3 separate regions of the Homo sapiens genome follow, and all the other regions are linked to region 1. Evidence: promoter capture Hi-C in 16 types of primary human blood cells and fetal thymus (Javierre and others, 2016). All regions are on one chromosome and are shown on one strand. Each heading gives the region's core, a stretch centred on a gene start or on the middle of the fragment in contact. The rest is flanking DNA. Distances are from core to core; before and after follow the strand shown. Region 1 holds the start of MTOR-AS1 (MTOR antisense RNA 1). Region 2 has its middle 9.4 kb from the start of LINC01647. Region 3 has its middle 12 kb from the start of FBXO2.

The links. The method cuts DNA at HindIII sites, captures the fragments that hold promoters and counts their contacts. A CHiCAGO score of 5 or more calls a contact.
Region 2: a fragment that was not itself captured here is called in contact with the fragment with the promoter of MTOR-AS1 in region 1 in 1 of 17 cell types (naive B cells); the score reaches 6.3 in naive B cells.
Region 3: a fragment that was not itself captured here is called in contact with the fragment with the promoter of MTOR-AS1 in region 1 in 2 of 17 cell types (endothelial precursors and M2 macrophages); the score reaches 6.1 in endothelial precursors.

What each region holds. Positions count from the first base shown.
Region 1 is chr1:11,141,921-11,146,655 of GRCh38, reverse strand. It overlaps MTOR-AS1 (MTOR antisense RNA 1), which reads right to left and starts at 2,758. Exons shown (of 4, transcript NR_046600.1): 1 at 2,669-2,758; 2 at 1,770-1,989; 3 at 1,377-1,503. MTOR (mechanistic target of rapamycin kinase) reads left to right here. Exons shown (of 58, transcript NM_004958.4): 33 at 1,611-1,688; 34 at 1,901-2,008. The HindIII fragment of the contact is 11,786 bases long and covers 2,635-4,735 here.
Region 2 is chr1:11,616,619-11,621,301 of GRCh38, reverse strand. No RefSeq gene overlaps it. Among named protein-coding and RNA genes, the nearest start is that of LINC01647, 9.4 kb to the right of the region's middle. The HindIII fragment of the contact is 1,656 bases long and covers 670-2,325 here.
Region 3 is chr1:11,639,831-11,644,268 of GRCh38, reverse strand. No RefSeq gene overlaps it. Among named protein-coding and RNA genes, the nearest start is that of FBXO2, 12 kb to the left of the region's middle. The HindIII fragment of the contact is 3,910 bases long and covers 1-3,444 here.

The DNA of each region.
Region 1 (4,735 bases), core at 1,509-4,008:
AGATCTCTCAGTGAGGAAAAGATTGTAGTGCTTCTAAGCCCACGGTGCTTTGGTAAAGAAGCTGTTGTACTTCAGGTCTGATGTTTACTCGGCTCTGTGAGTACATTTGAATGGTTTTGATTCATTGTACTCAGAAGACTGCCAGCAGGTCAGCTGGGGCTACTTATTGTTCTGAGGGGGACAAATGTGTTCTGGAAGCTACTGTCTCGGTTGCTTTTGGAGTTAGCTTGTTGGGTCATCATTGTATCCCTTGTTGTAGAGAGAAGCTGTATTTCACCAAAAGGTAGGATTCAGAGAGCCAGCAGTCTCACTGTGCAGCAGAAATCAGTCACAAGGGTCTTCTGGCCATGCAGGCATGTCACACATTGATTACCTTCCGAGGAAGCTAGTACTTACTTGCAAATAGTATGCTGACTTGCAGAATGAAATAATGAAGTAATCCCATCCACCCTGTCAGACACGAGACTTAGATGAGGTGCCCGGGTAAATGATCTGAGCACTTAAGGCATTGGGACACTATAATTAACCTTAAACATTCAAAAACGGGAAAAGCTCTGCATGAGGGGTTTTTAATTGATGGCACAGAGGAAACTCAAACTGCAGTGCTGTGGCGTCCCCCAGGCTGTCATTTGTGTGATGAGAACCAAGATCTTGGTTGTCTCTGTCAGAGACACAAGAGTTCCCGTTCATGTGGACAGGATTGGGCATCTCTGCCAATTTTAGAGACACTCCCTCATAAGGACAGAGGGTGCTTGGAAGCCAGAGCTACCACCTGGAGCCATTGAAGTGTGTGCAGAATCTATTTTCATAAACATGCCCAGCAAGAAAAAGTTAAAAGAGGGTAGATCCCCAGGCTGGGCACAGTGGCTCACACCTGTAATCGCAGCACTTTGGGAGGCCGAGGCAGACGGATCACTTGAGACCAGGAGTTCAAGACCAGCCTGCCCAACATGGTGAAACCCTATCTCTACTAAAAATACAAAAATTAGCTGGGCGTGGTGGCGGGCGCCTGTAACCCCAGCATCCCAGCTACTTGGGAGGCTGAGGCAAGAGAATCGCTTGAACCAACATGGAGAAACCCTATCTCTACTAAAAATACAAAAATTAGCTGGGCGTGGTGGCGGGCGCCTGTAACCCCAGCATCCCAGCTACTTGGGAGGCTGAGGCAAGAGAATCACTTGAACCCGGGAGGTGGAGACTGCAGTGAGCCAAGATCACACCACTGCACTCCAGCCTGGGTGACAGAGTGAGACTGTGTCTCAGAAGAAAAAAAAAAGGTAGATCCCCAGTTATGTCCTCTTGAGATGCAAGAACCCATGATTCGGTTTTACAGCCCACATTCCCATGCCCTTGCCACCTAAGATTTTGTGTGTTACCTTAGATAGATGTTAAAGTTTTGGATGCCATACATTTCTGTCTTCGATGAGAAATTGGATAATACCTCCTCTCAAGCCATTCAGTTCTGGGAAAATGCCCTTCTTCAGCGAATTTCTCTTTTCATCCCTGGAATTTAAGTGAGACAGATAACTTCTGTAGCTAGTTGGGGTGCCCTAAAATAACCCTAAGCTCCCAAGTCCAGAGCTCAGTCCCAAGGGTTGTTTCTCTTCTAGTGCATTGACAAGGCCAGGGACCTGCTGGATGCTGAATTAACTGCGATGGCAGGAGAGAGTTACAGTCGGGCATATGGGGTAAGTGTCAACTATTCTGCACATTGTCATTTTTGAGGCTTATTTCCATACTTTTTTCAGAATGGGCTATTGAGAACTTACAGGCTGCTGGAAACATGCCTGTTTTCTCTGATCGGCAGATACCCTGACACCAGAAGGAATGATTTAAATTAATCCTGTCTTTTGGATTGTTCGTGCAGTAATTAGTTTGGAATGCGATTTGCTTCCATCAGGCCATGGTTTCTTGCCACATGCTGTCCGAGCTGGAGGAGGTTATCCAGTACAAACTTGTCCCCGAGCGACGAGAGATCATCCGCCAGATCTGGTGGGAGAGACTGCAGGTGAGCTTGGTAGAAAGCCCCAGTTCACCCACCTACCCCTACCCCTTCCAGGACCTGGGTGAGTGCCCCCCTCCACCCTGGCTCTTACTCAACTTGCTTTTCCTGCCTCCTCCACCAGTGTATTGCTTGGCTTGCATACAAAGCAGAATACTCAAAGGCTCCTCACCTAAACTTAAGCTGTGAGAGAATGACCAATTTTCCAGTCTCTTCTTATTCTCTTCTCTAGGAATTAAAAAAAATGTTTTTTAGTAAGTGACACCTGTGACCAGTCAGTTAGGAATCATAACCTCAAAATCAGTGGTTCTCAACCTTAGCAGCACAGTAGAATCACCTGCAGAGCTTTTTAAAATCCTGATGCCCAGGCTATTCCCCAGGCCAATTAAATTTCTGGGGAGAGACTCAGGATCAGTATCTTTTCAGGTTCCCCCAGATGATTCCACCAGCCAAAGCTAAGAACCACTGCTCTAACTACACTTGGAGGCCACCTGCACCAGCTTTTCAGATGGGGTTGCCTTAGGTTCTCATTGGCCAACTCCTGCTATTTATAGCTACTTAGGTCAGAGTCATCCTGTCGCCTCTATTGAGACTTTTTTTCCACTGCAGTTTCCGCTTGTAGAGAAGAAGCTTTCCCAAGTCCTCCATCAGTGTTTTCATTCTCACATTCTGATCATTTTAACATGAGAAACTGTCACTCCAGGTCTGGGAGTCAGGAGTCTAAATGTTCTGGGAAGGATGGCCAGTTATCCCATTCCTTGAGTGGGTAGGATAGGAAGTTCATCAGCAAAAGAAAAAAGAGAGAAAGCCTTTACCACTCCAGAAACCATTTGTCTCCCTACCTATCATAATCCATCCCCGCAATTATAAACCATTTCCTCTCAACTAGATCCCCACCTAATTGCTAATTCCAAATTCTCGCTTCAGACCAATCGAAGTTTGTGCTTCCAGGCGTCTCAGTAGGCTGCGACAAAACCTTTTGACTCCAAACACATTCCTGCCTAGGAAGCTCAGGGCACATTCCCCTGGACAGGAAAGAGCAATGGGCAAAGGAACATCTATGAATACAGTCATTTATGGCTCTGAAATGAGCACATACAGTTCTTTTACATGTTTTATTAGTAATTATGAAATGCCCAGTGAATGTTTTGATGGAAAATTGTCTCCTGGGCACCAGAAAGAATTCCACAAATAAGCATTTCCCACTTGATTTGTACACACCCCAATTCTTTGAAATGCCTATAATAAAGAGTTTCTACAGCAGAGATCTGATGAACCTTCTGACAGTCTGACAAGTGGGACTTGATCCAAATGTAGACTTAGAGGAGAGGGGAGGCATGGAATGAGTCCTGGGAAGAGAGATGCCTGTCTGACTTTACTGGGTCCAGGACACTGCCACCACCTTAAGCCTTCGTGACTTTCCTATCTTGAGGCAGCAAGATGCTTTTTGGCTTACAGGAGGCCAAATTATTTCAGCATCTGGGAGAACCTAACTATTGGTGAGAAGTCACAAAAAACAATCACTCAGTGTACTTTTTTCTGTTATTTTAACTTTCGAAATCATTGTTGTCACACTTCATGGGATGGAAAAATGTGGTCCAAGGCCTGAAAGTAAAGCATTACATTTATAGTGGAAATTTGGCTCTTGTGGATGGCTTGCTGTCAAATGAACTGCTGGGGCTAGAAAACTGCCATTTTGTGGTCAAATCATTTAAATTAAAATCCCCAACCAGTATTATAGTAGTGGAAAAATACATGTTTGTTACTTTTCTTTGGAGTTGCACCAATGCTTTTGGTTCCTAAGACCCTCCCATAGGGCAGTTAGAGAGGTCAGCCTTACTGGCGCTGGGTCTCTTCTAGCCTTGGGTTCTCCAGTCAGGCTCAGACTGCATCTTATCATAGCTAAAAGCCTGAGATCATTGTCGCTAGACTTTTAAGTTTATCTCCATGGAGGACAGCTCCATGGGTTCATGGAATTTACCATGAAGCAGTAGATCTCAGGAACTCCCCTTCTGAGTCTGACTTCTTATCAACAAGGATGAAAAAGGAGTTCACTTGGCCAGGCATGGTGGCTCACACCTGTAATCCCAGCACTTTGGGAGGCTGAGGCAGGTGGATTGCTTGAGGTCAGGAGTTTGAGACTTAGCCTGGCCAACATAGAGAAACCCCCTCTCTGCTAAAAGAAAAAAATACAAAAATTAGCCAGGCGTGGTGGCGCACACCTGTAATCCCAGCTCCTTGGGAGGCTGAGGCAGGAGAATCGCTTGGACCTGGGAGGCAGAGGTTGCAGTGAGCCAAGATTGCGCCACTGCACTCCAGCCTGAGGGACAGAATGATACTCCATCTCCAAAAAAAAAGGAGTTCTGCCTGCTTCTGCTCCCAAAGTTCTGGGATTACAGGCATGAGCCACCATGCCTGGCCTTCTGATACATTTTAACTTCCCTGCAAGCCACAGCCAAATCCACTGTGAAACACAACGGAGATTTGCTGATAGAATCTCAGGTTAAGGGTACTGTGAGTGAAATACCCTTAGGCAGCCGTCCCCAACCTGACTCTCTATAGTTGTTAGATGTAAAATTAGCTTAAGCCCCTTTGATAATTAATTCACTTTTTTATTATTTTATTTTATTTATTTATTTATTTATTTATTTTTGAGACGGAGTCTCGCTGAGTCCCCCAGTCTGGAGTGCAGTGGCACGATCTCGGCTTACTGCAAGCTCCGCCTCCCAAGTT
Region 2 (4,683 bases), core at 248-2,747, 480 kb before region 1:
CAGGGTGTAATATAACAGGGACTGGTGGGGGCTGTGGCAAATTGGAACAGCGCGTCCCACCTAAAGGGGCAGCCATTTCTCTGCTCCACTGATCATTGCCATGTAAGGGTGTTGATCACGGGTTGTCAGATGGATTCAGTCTTTGCAAGTGTTCCCAACTGTAAAATGGGCACAGTATTAATAATTGTCTTAGTGACTTGGTGTTAGGACTAAATGAGCTAAGAAATGCAAAGTGCCTATTAACAGAACAATGGCTGGCATATAGTGAGTGGCAATAACTTTGTACTGACAATTACTACGATTGTTGTTATTCTCTATTTGTACAAAAGACCAGATGTCTTCCTTCCCCGGCCCCCAACACACTCCTGGCAGGAAGATGGGGAGCATCTAATCATTTCAGTGCAGTTGTTTGGGGTCTCCAGGGCCATGGGCTTCCTTGGCTGCCTGTGGCCTTGTCTTGAATGGCTCCAGCAGATGAGAAATGTTTGTGATCCAGAGAGAAAGCAGACGCCGGAAATGCTGCTGCCAACAGAACGCTTTGAGTCACCTGGACTCACTTCATGGGGGTTTTATTTTCTTTTGGTAGGTTATTCTGAGCCCGGGACATGCACGTTTGCAGGAAGGATTTGTCAGGCTTCGTTGGGCTGAGAAAGTGGCCACTGAAAAGCTTGGGGAGAGGCGGAGTCACGTGGTGAGGCGTGGAACCAATGCCAGTTGAAAGGGCCCAATTGTGAGCCTTAAAGAGATTCCCAGTTGTGTCCAAGGACGAGGTGGGAGAAACTAGGAGCGGGAGTGACAGGAAAATTGTCTAGCCGGTCCTCTACAGCACATGCATTCTTAATTCAGCCAGGGCTGGCAGAAAGAGACAGTGTGCATGGGTGTGTGTGCATACAGGGTGTGCATGTGTGTGGCGGGCGCCTGTCTACCTCCTCCAAGACACACTCCTTGGTTAACCCCAGCTGGCCTGGATTATACCTTCTTCTGTCTTGACTTCCAGTTCTGGATCTTTGGAAAACGAGCTGCAAGTCTTAGGGCAAGGCATTTAACCTTGCTGTGCCTCAGTTTACCCATCTGAGGAGTAGGATGATAATTCCAGTTCTACTTGCTCCAAAGGCAATCTAATGGTAGTGTTCTAGAAGGACTGTCTTTGGGTTTGAATGCACCCTCTCTCATCTGCAGAGCCCTCTGTAATTTCAAGGCTTTTACACAATCACGTCTGATTCCAGATATGGTGAGGTCAACAGATTAGCAGACAGCTGACATTGAAAAGACAGTCTGTGGCCAGGCACAGTGGCTCACGCCTGTAATCCCAGCACTTTGGGAGGCTGAGGCGGGCAGATCACGTGAGGTCAGGAGTTCAAGAGCAGCCTAGCCAACATGGTGAAACCCCGTCCCTACTAAAAATACAAAAATTAGCTGGGCATGGTGGCGGGCTCCTGTAATCCCAGCTACTTGGGAGGCTGGGGCAGGAGAATCGCTTGAACCTGGGAGGCGGAGGTTGCAGTGAGCCGAGATTGCGCCATTGCACTCCAGCCTGGGTGACAGGAGCAAAACTCCGCCTCAAAAAAAAAAAAAAAAAAAAAAAGACAGATTATTACACTCACAGATCCCAAGAGGAGCGGGCTTGTCCAGCCATGAGGGGGCACATAGGGGCAGTCAGGAGGTAGAGGGAGGGGGAAATCGTGGGCAAGAACATTTATTGTGGTATCCATGAGAAGGAACGAATGAGGCAGAGCAAGCCGGCTTAGGGTTGGCTAGTTTGAATAATTTCAGTGCATTCTGGGCCACAAGGGCTGCCCCTAGTTGTCTGGTAGATGACCCTGGAGTGATCAGGGCAGGTGGATAGTGGTCCAAAGTGTGAGAGCCAATAAAGGAGGTAGTTGCTGGTATAGACTCTGGATTGGTTGGTTTGCATTTTCAAAGCAAATGGGCTCATGGGCAAGTTGGTTACTATCTCTAAGAATTTACCAGCTCTTAACCCTCCAGGGTCACAAAGCCCCAGATGTCAAAGTATCAGAACACAGAAAATAAAAGGCATGCTTGATAAAGGAGGGGTTGGTTGACTGGTCGAAGGTCACGCAGCTTGGGAGTGAAAGAGCCCAGGTGTTTTGACTCTCGGTCCAGGACATGCCCCTGTGATCTTCAGGTGGCTTCTCCCGAGATCCCATGCCTTCCTTATGGACAAGGGCCTCCCTAGACCGTCACAGGGGCTGAGGGCAATGAAATGTTCTGCTTCCCACTTTCTGCCCCCAAACAGGTGTGTCCCAGGACCCTAGTCAGCACTGTTTTGGTTGCAAGTGACAAAAACCCCACCTTAAACAAGCTTAAGTCAAAAAGTGAGTTTATTGGCTCACATAACTGGGTGCTCAGGGTTTCCCAGTTTCAGGAAAGGCTAGATCCAGGAGCCCAAATGCTATTGTCAGGACATCATCTGTTTTGCGTATCTGGAGTCTGCGTCCCTTCAGGTGTTCTCACAAAGCCTTTCTCCACGTGTTAGGGAAGAAGGCCAATGGTAGCCCCGAACCCCTATAACTCATTACCCAAAAGGAAGAGAGATCTTCCTTGCTGGGTTCAGGTGTCAAATCTCTGATTGATCTTCTTGGGTCAGGTGTTTTTTTTTTTTTTTTTGAAACAGAGTCTTGCTCTGTCGCCCAGGGTGGATTGCAGTGGTATGATCTTAGCTCACTGCAACCTCCGCCTCCCCGGGTTCAAGCGATTCTCCTGCCTCAGCCTCCTGAGCAGCTGGGATTACAGCCACGTGCTACCATGCCAAGCTAATTTTTGTATTTTTAGTAGAGACGGGGTTTCACCATATTGGCCAGGCTGGTCTCAAACTTCCGACCTCAGATGATCCATCTGTCTCGGCCTCCCAAAGTTCTGGGATTACAGGCGTGAGCCACCACACCCAACCCATGGTGTTCATTCTTGAGCCAATCAGTGTGATCAGGGGGATTAGAATTCTGGGCAGCCTGGCCTGATCTCACACCCACGAAGTGTGTGTGTGTGTATGTCTGTGTGTGTCTGTATGTGCATGAGTGTGTGTGTGTTCCCGTGACTATGTTTTGTAGAGCATTGTGACTAAGCCCTACCAGGACCTCATGGAATGGGGGAGAGACAGGCAGAAACAGGCAGTATCTGCCCCCAATTCAATGTTCTTCATTCCTATCCACCAATTTTCCACAAAGGTCTTGCTCTGTGCCAAGGACGACTTCCTGCCCTGAGCTGGAAGGACTTTCTTGCCATCTTCCCAAAATGTCTTAACAGAAGGGCAAGCTTCCTGGTCTAGGAGTTGGGACACTGGGGTTTGGGTCATAGCACTGTCACTGAGTCACTCTGTGACCCAGGACAAGCCCCCTAAGCCTCAGTGTTCCTGTCTGGACAATGGGTGGGCTAGACTAGAAGGTCTTTAAACTGCCTCCAAGTTTGACCCTCTGTGAGTGAAGTGCTTGCTCTGAGCAAAGAGAGGTTCCGAAGCCTGCTTGCCAGGATGATGTGGGTGGGAACAGGGCTGTTAAAATACAGATTCCTAGACCCTCCCCAGGACCAGTTGGATCACACTCTCTTCGGAGCAGGACCCTGGAAGCTATTATTTTTGAGGAGTGATTCCGTTGTAGCTGGTTCACAACCTGGTGCTTGGGAACTACGGCCTAAGAAATCTGGTCCCTTGAAAGGGACAATGAACGAACTGGCTCTTTGAGGCATCTGGGCTTGTTGGCTCTGCTAGCCTAAAGCTAACAGGGTGTGTCCTGCATACAGTTGGCAAGAGACAGTAGCTGCTGAGCCAGACTGGCCCAAGAGCCTCCTGGTGGTGACTGCCCTGTGTTCTCACGTAGCAGGTGGCCTCTATGGGGACCTGGCCCTGCCAGCTGGCAGAGCATCTCGGAGCTGAGAGCTCTTCCTGGGACACTGGCAGGAGGTCTCACTCCATGCTGTTGTTGGGGATGAGATTTGGGGAAGAGATGTGCGTGCTGGCTTGGGATGGGGACCGGAGGCTGTGGGGCAGGCTGCTTAAGTCTAGTGGGGAGGGGAGCAGGGTGTGGCCTTGGGCAAGTCAGGTCATCCTCTTTGGGGCATCTGTCCTCCCACCTGTCCAGTGGGTTTGTAGCTTGGACCTTCTGAGTCTGCTTTAGTCCGTCGAGAGGGCTCTGCGGGAGAGAGGGCCACACAGAGGGGTGCTGTGAGGGTGGGGGAGAAGGCAGCTTTGATGGAGGAGGGGCTCAGCTTGCAGGTGCCAGAGGGCAGGCCCCCAGCTGATCAGGCCAGATGAGTAGCAAACCAAGAGCTCAGGAAGGGAGGGGAGAATGGGGCAGAAACGCTTCTGCTGGACAGCTGGAGAGAACCACAGGATGCCCTGGGGCCCCCCCGTGCCACCGCGTGAGCAGAGGCGGCTCAAAGCATGGTCCCGGGGCTGCCCTTTCTGGATTCAAATCCCAGCTCTGCCCTCAATGGTGTGACCCTGGGCCAGCCACTCCCCTCTGTGCCCCAGTTTTCTCTCCTATCAAGTGGGGGATGCTAACAGCCCCTCCCTCAGGGGGTCCTCAGTGGGCACTTAGCAATTGTTGTTGCTGTTAGTATTAGTGAGGACTGTACCTGCTTGGGGTTATGGGCAGGCCGTGGAGGCTGAGCTGCTGACCAGCCATGTGACCTTGTTGCCTGACCTCCCTGTGCCTCAGTTTCCTCTCT
Region 3 (4,438 bases), core at 240-2,739, 500 kb before region 1:
TCTTGAACTCCTGGCCTCAAGTGATCCACCTGCCTTGGCCTCCCAAAGTGTTGGGATTGCAGGCATGAGCCACGGCGCCTGGCTGGAAGTGACACTTGAATCACATGATGACGAGAAACCAGCCATACGGCTCTGGGGAAAGAGCACTGCAGAGGCAGCCAAAGGCTCCGACATGGGAATGAACTTATTCACAGGTCAGAAAGGCAGCCAGCATGGCTGGAGCAGTGAGCAAGTGAGGAGGTGATCTGACGTGAGCTTGGAGATGTAGGAAGGTGACCCAGAGAGTTTCCTGAGGACCTACTATGTGCTCTGCCCTATAAGATATAAATGCTCTAGGAAGCAGATATGATATCGTTTCCATTAAGGAAAAACCTTTGCTCTGTTCAGCAGGAGCTAGGGATGGGGGTTTAGACATCAGCTGCTGACAATCTTGTTTGATGAAACCAAATTTCCCAAGAGTAGCAGGATGATCAGGATGATGATGATGGTGATGATGCTGATGGCAGCAATGATGGCGATGACAGGCATTTGCTGAGGACCTAGAGCGCCAGTTCATGAGCTCAGTGCACAGGCTCATTTAATCTGTGCAGTGGCCCCCTTAGATAAAAGAGCTAAGACTCAGAGATGCAGGGTAGCTTGCCAGGGTCATGCAATGAATAAGGAGTTGAAGCTGGCTTTCCAGCTTAAGTCTTTTTTTCTTTAAATTGACATTTTATATGTGTATATAGACTTTTAATTAACATTATTTTCACAGAGCCAAGCAAACATTTTCAGTCCGCAGGAGGGAAAGAGGGGAGTTGTGGGTTGTGTTGCTGTTTTTTTTTTTTTTTTTTTTTGAGATGGAGTCTCGCTCTGTCGTCCAGGCTGGAGTGCAATGGCGCAATCTCAGTTCACTGAAACCTCCGCCTCCCAGGTTCAAGTGATTCTCCTGCCTCACCAGCTTAAGTTTTAATGACTTTGCTGGGGTACAGAATCAGAAGGGGCCACATGCTGGGGGACAGAGCAAGGACAGAAGCTGGGGGCTCCCAGGTGAGGAAGAGCAGAAAGAGTTGGAGATGACGAGGACACTGGGCTCCAGAGTGTCTGTGCGTACCATTACCCCAGGCAGTAGGAGGGATGCTAGGTGTTTGGGGGCTATTTTGGCTAAGTGGTCAGGGAAGGTAAAATGAATTTCCTCTTAGATTTCTCAGTGGAAACATATGTTTAACAATTTGGTAATGGAAAAGTCCCTCTTCCCCTTTCTGATTTCTTTTTCTTTTTTTGAGACGGAGTCTCGCTCTGTTGCCAGGCTGGAGTGCAGTGGCGCGACCTCTGCTCACTGCATCTCTACCTCCCGGGTTCAAATGATTCTCCTGCCTTAGCCTCCCAAGTAGCTGGGACTACAGGCGTGCGCCACCACGCCCAGCTAATTTTTGTATTTTTAGTGGAGACGGGGTTTCACCGTGTTGGTCAGGCTGGTCTCGAACTCTTGACCTTGTGGTCCGCCCACTTCGGCCTCCCAGAGTGTTGGGATTACAGGCGTGAGCCACTGCACCTGGCCTCTGGTTTCTTTACCTTAAAAATCTGGATTTTTGTGTACGCGGTGTATTCAGTTGTGGACATGGTATATTCAATTGTGCACATAGAGGGAGGGAAGGGCCAGTTCCTCCAAGTACCACTAGGTGTCAGCATTGTCAAGGCTGTCCCCAAGCTGTGTCTGTCCTGCCCATTTCTCTGCGGAGGAAAAGTCGAATTTGAATCCAAGTCCTGGTCTCTTCCCATTGTTTGGGGCTGAGCCTGGCTCTTCAGGGGCTGGGATTTGGTGCTGCTCTGACCCCAGAGGCTGTATGAGAAACATTTAGGAGGCTAGGTCTCCAAGGCCTGGGAGGCCCCTGGGTCTCACCCCAGGCCACATAGCAAGGGCTTTGGATGGCTGGACTCCCCTCCAGAGCTGGGCCCCTCCCAACTAGGGAGGGCTGGTGGTATCCTGGGATCTAGCTCCAAGTAGGTCTGGGAGTCTAGAACCCCCCCAAGTCCATCTCCACCTCGGCAGAGCCCTGGGCCTTGCTTGATGGTGCCAGGCCTGCAGTGAACACAGAACACCCAGACAGATCCAATCCTGAGTTCCTGGTGCATAATGACTTTGCTATTTCCCACCACCGTAAATTAAACCTAATCTTGTGTTGACTCTGCTGAACAAGGAGAATAATGAAGAAGATTAAGATGAGATGGTATTCATTCTCCTCCAACAAAAGCCAATTAATTGTCAGTAGGATTACTGCCTGGAGCCAGGAGCTGCTTGCTAGGAGCTCTGCAGACAGGATGGAACAGGGCTGAGGGCCATTCGCTAGGGTTGCCACTGGGGTCTGCTGGTCATGCAGCAGGAAATATTGCAGGTAGATGTTAGGGAGAACTGCCAGAATGAAGGAGGGGGCTGGCACCAAGGAGGAGGGTGCAAAGAGCTTGGAATCACTCACAGAGGTGATGTTTCTAAGGCGTGGAGGGGAACGCTGTGGAAGTTCCCAGCCACCTGACCATGTCCATCCGAGGCCCCCTGGGACCTTCCCCTGACCATGTCCATCCGAGGCCCCCTGGGACCTTCCCCTGCCTTTCTGCGGTCACCTTTGATGAATGAAGCTGCATTCAGGGGTCTCTGGCTTCCTCCCCACTCTGCTTTTTTTCCTCCCTTCCTCTCCTAGGAATCAGGGAGGCCATTTGTCCAGTGTTAACAGCTTGGGTTTAGAGACAGAAACATGGCCAGGCGCGGTGGCTCACGCCTGTAATCCCAGCACTTTGGGAGGCTGAGGCGGGTGGATTGCTTGAGGTCAGGAGTTCCAGACCAGCCTGGGCAACATGGTGAAACCCCGTCTCTACCAAAAATACAAAACAATTAGCTGAGCCTGGTGGCACACGCCTGTAGTCCCAGCTACTTGGGAGGCTGAGGCATGAGAATCGCTTGAACCTGGGAGATGGAGGTTGCAGTGAGCAGAGATCGCACCACTGCACTCCAGCCTGGGTGGCAGTGAGATTTTCTCTAAAATAAAAATAAAAATAATTAGAGACAGAAACACTTGGGCTTCACCTGGCTTTGCCCCTTGTCCTCAACCACACAAATGGAACCTACGATCCTCACCTGCCAACCTGGTTTGATACTCCCAGGCACTAATGTGCCTCCAGTTCCTGCACCCACTAGATTCTTGGAACAAGACAGTGAAGCTGAATGGAGTGGCCTGACTGCTGTGGGCCGTTGCCAGAAGGTGAGGGAACCAACATTTGTTGGTCTACTGCTGCATTATCTCATCGACTGCCTACAGCAGCCTCCTCGGGAGGCTTTATTTTGTCATCACAAAATTTATTGAAGAGGAAACCGAGGCTCAGAGAGGTGGGGCCCTTGGTCGAGGTCACCAAGCTGTAGGCTGCAGAGTTGGCTGGGACGGGGCTTCTGTCGCCATGGCCCCCAAAGCTTGAGCCCTTTCCTCATCTGCACATTGCTTCGTGCACATGGAAGGCATTCAGTGTGTGCTGGCCGGATGAATGAAACGCTCATCAAATGCTATTTCTGGTCCAGTAAGTTCCGTTTCAGACTCTCCCACATCCTGATAACTCCCAGAAGTAAATGGATTGTGTGTGATTTGTGAAATTCTTCTTGGTAATTCTTGGCAACTCACCTACCTCACTACTACTGTGAAGAAAACTCTACCCTCCCATCCAGATCTAAGTTTGCTTCATTTACTCGGATTGATGAGGTTTTTTTTTTTAATTTTTTTTTATTTTTTTTTATTTTCTGAGCATGGCAAAAGTAGCCTCAAAGTCCAGTTTTACAATCTATGCTATCTCAGCACACGCTGAGCACTCACCATGTGATAGGTGTGTTCAAAACATCACCTGTGTATGGTTTTATTTAATCCTCCAAGCACATCTGTGTGCTATTATTCCCATTTCAGAGGCTGAGATGAAACTGAGGCCCAGAGACGTGCATTCTCGCCCCAGGTCACACAGCAAGGGCTTTGCATGGCTGGAATCCCCTCCAGAGCTGCCTCTCCTCGCCCCCTGTCACCACCTGCAGGCTTTCCTGGGTGAAGTGATTCTTGCGGAGGGATTCTAGTCCTCTGTGCAGACAGGAATTGTGGTGGAGGCCGTGGGCTTCCGGGTTCAGTTGGAATTGGTGGAGTTTTCTGTGTCCCACAAATCACACACTTAGACTCAGCCTCAGGAATTGATCTTTGGTTCATATGTGGAAGGATTTACCACTTAAGCTTTTTTTTTTTTTTTTTTTTTTTGAGACGAAATCTCACTCTGTTTCCCTGGCTGGAGTGCAGTGGCATGATCTTGGCTCACTGTAACCTCCACCTCCCAGATTCAGGTGATTCACCTGCCTCAGCCTCCAAGTAGCTGGGATTACAGGTGTGCACCACCACACCTGGCTGTTTTTTGTATTTTTAGTAGAGATGGGGTTTCA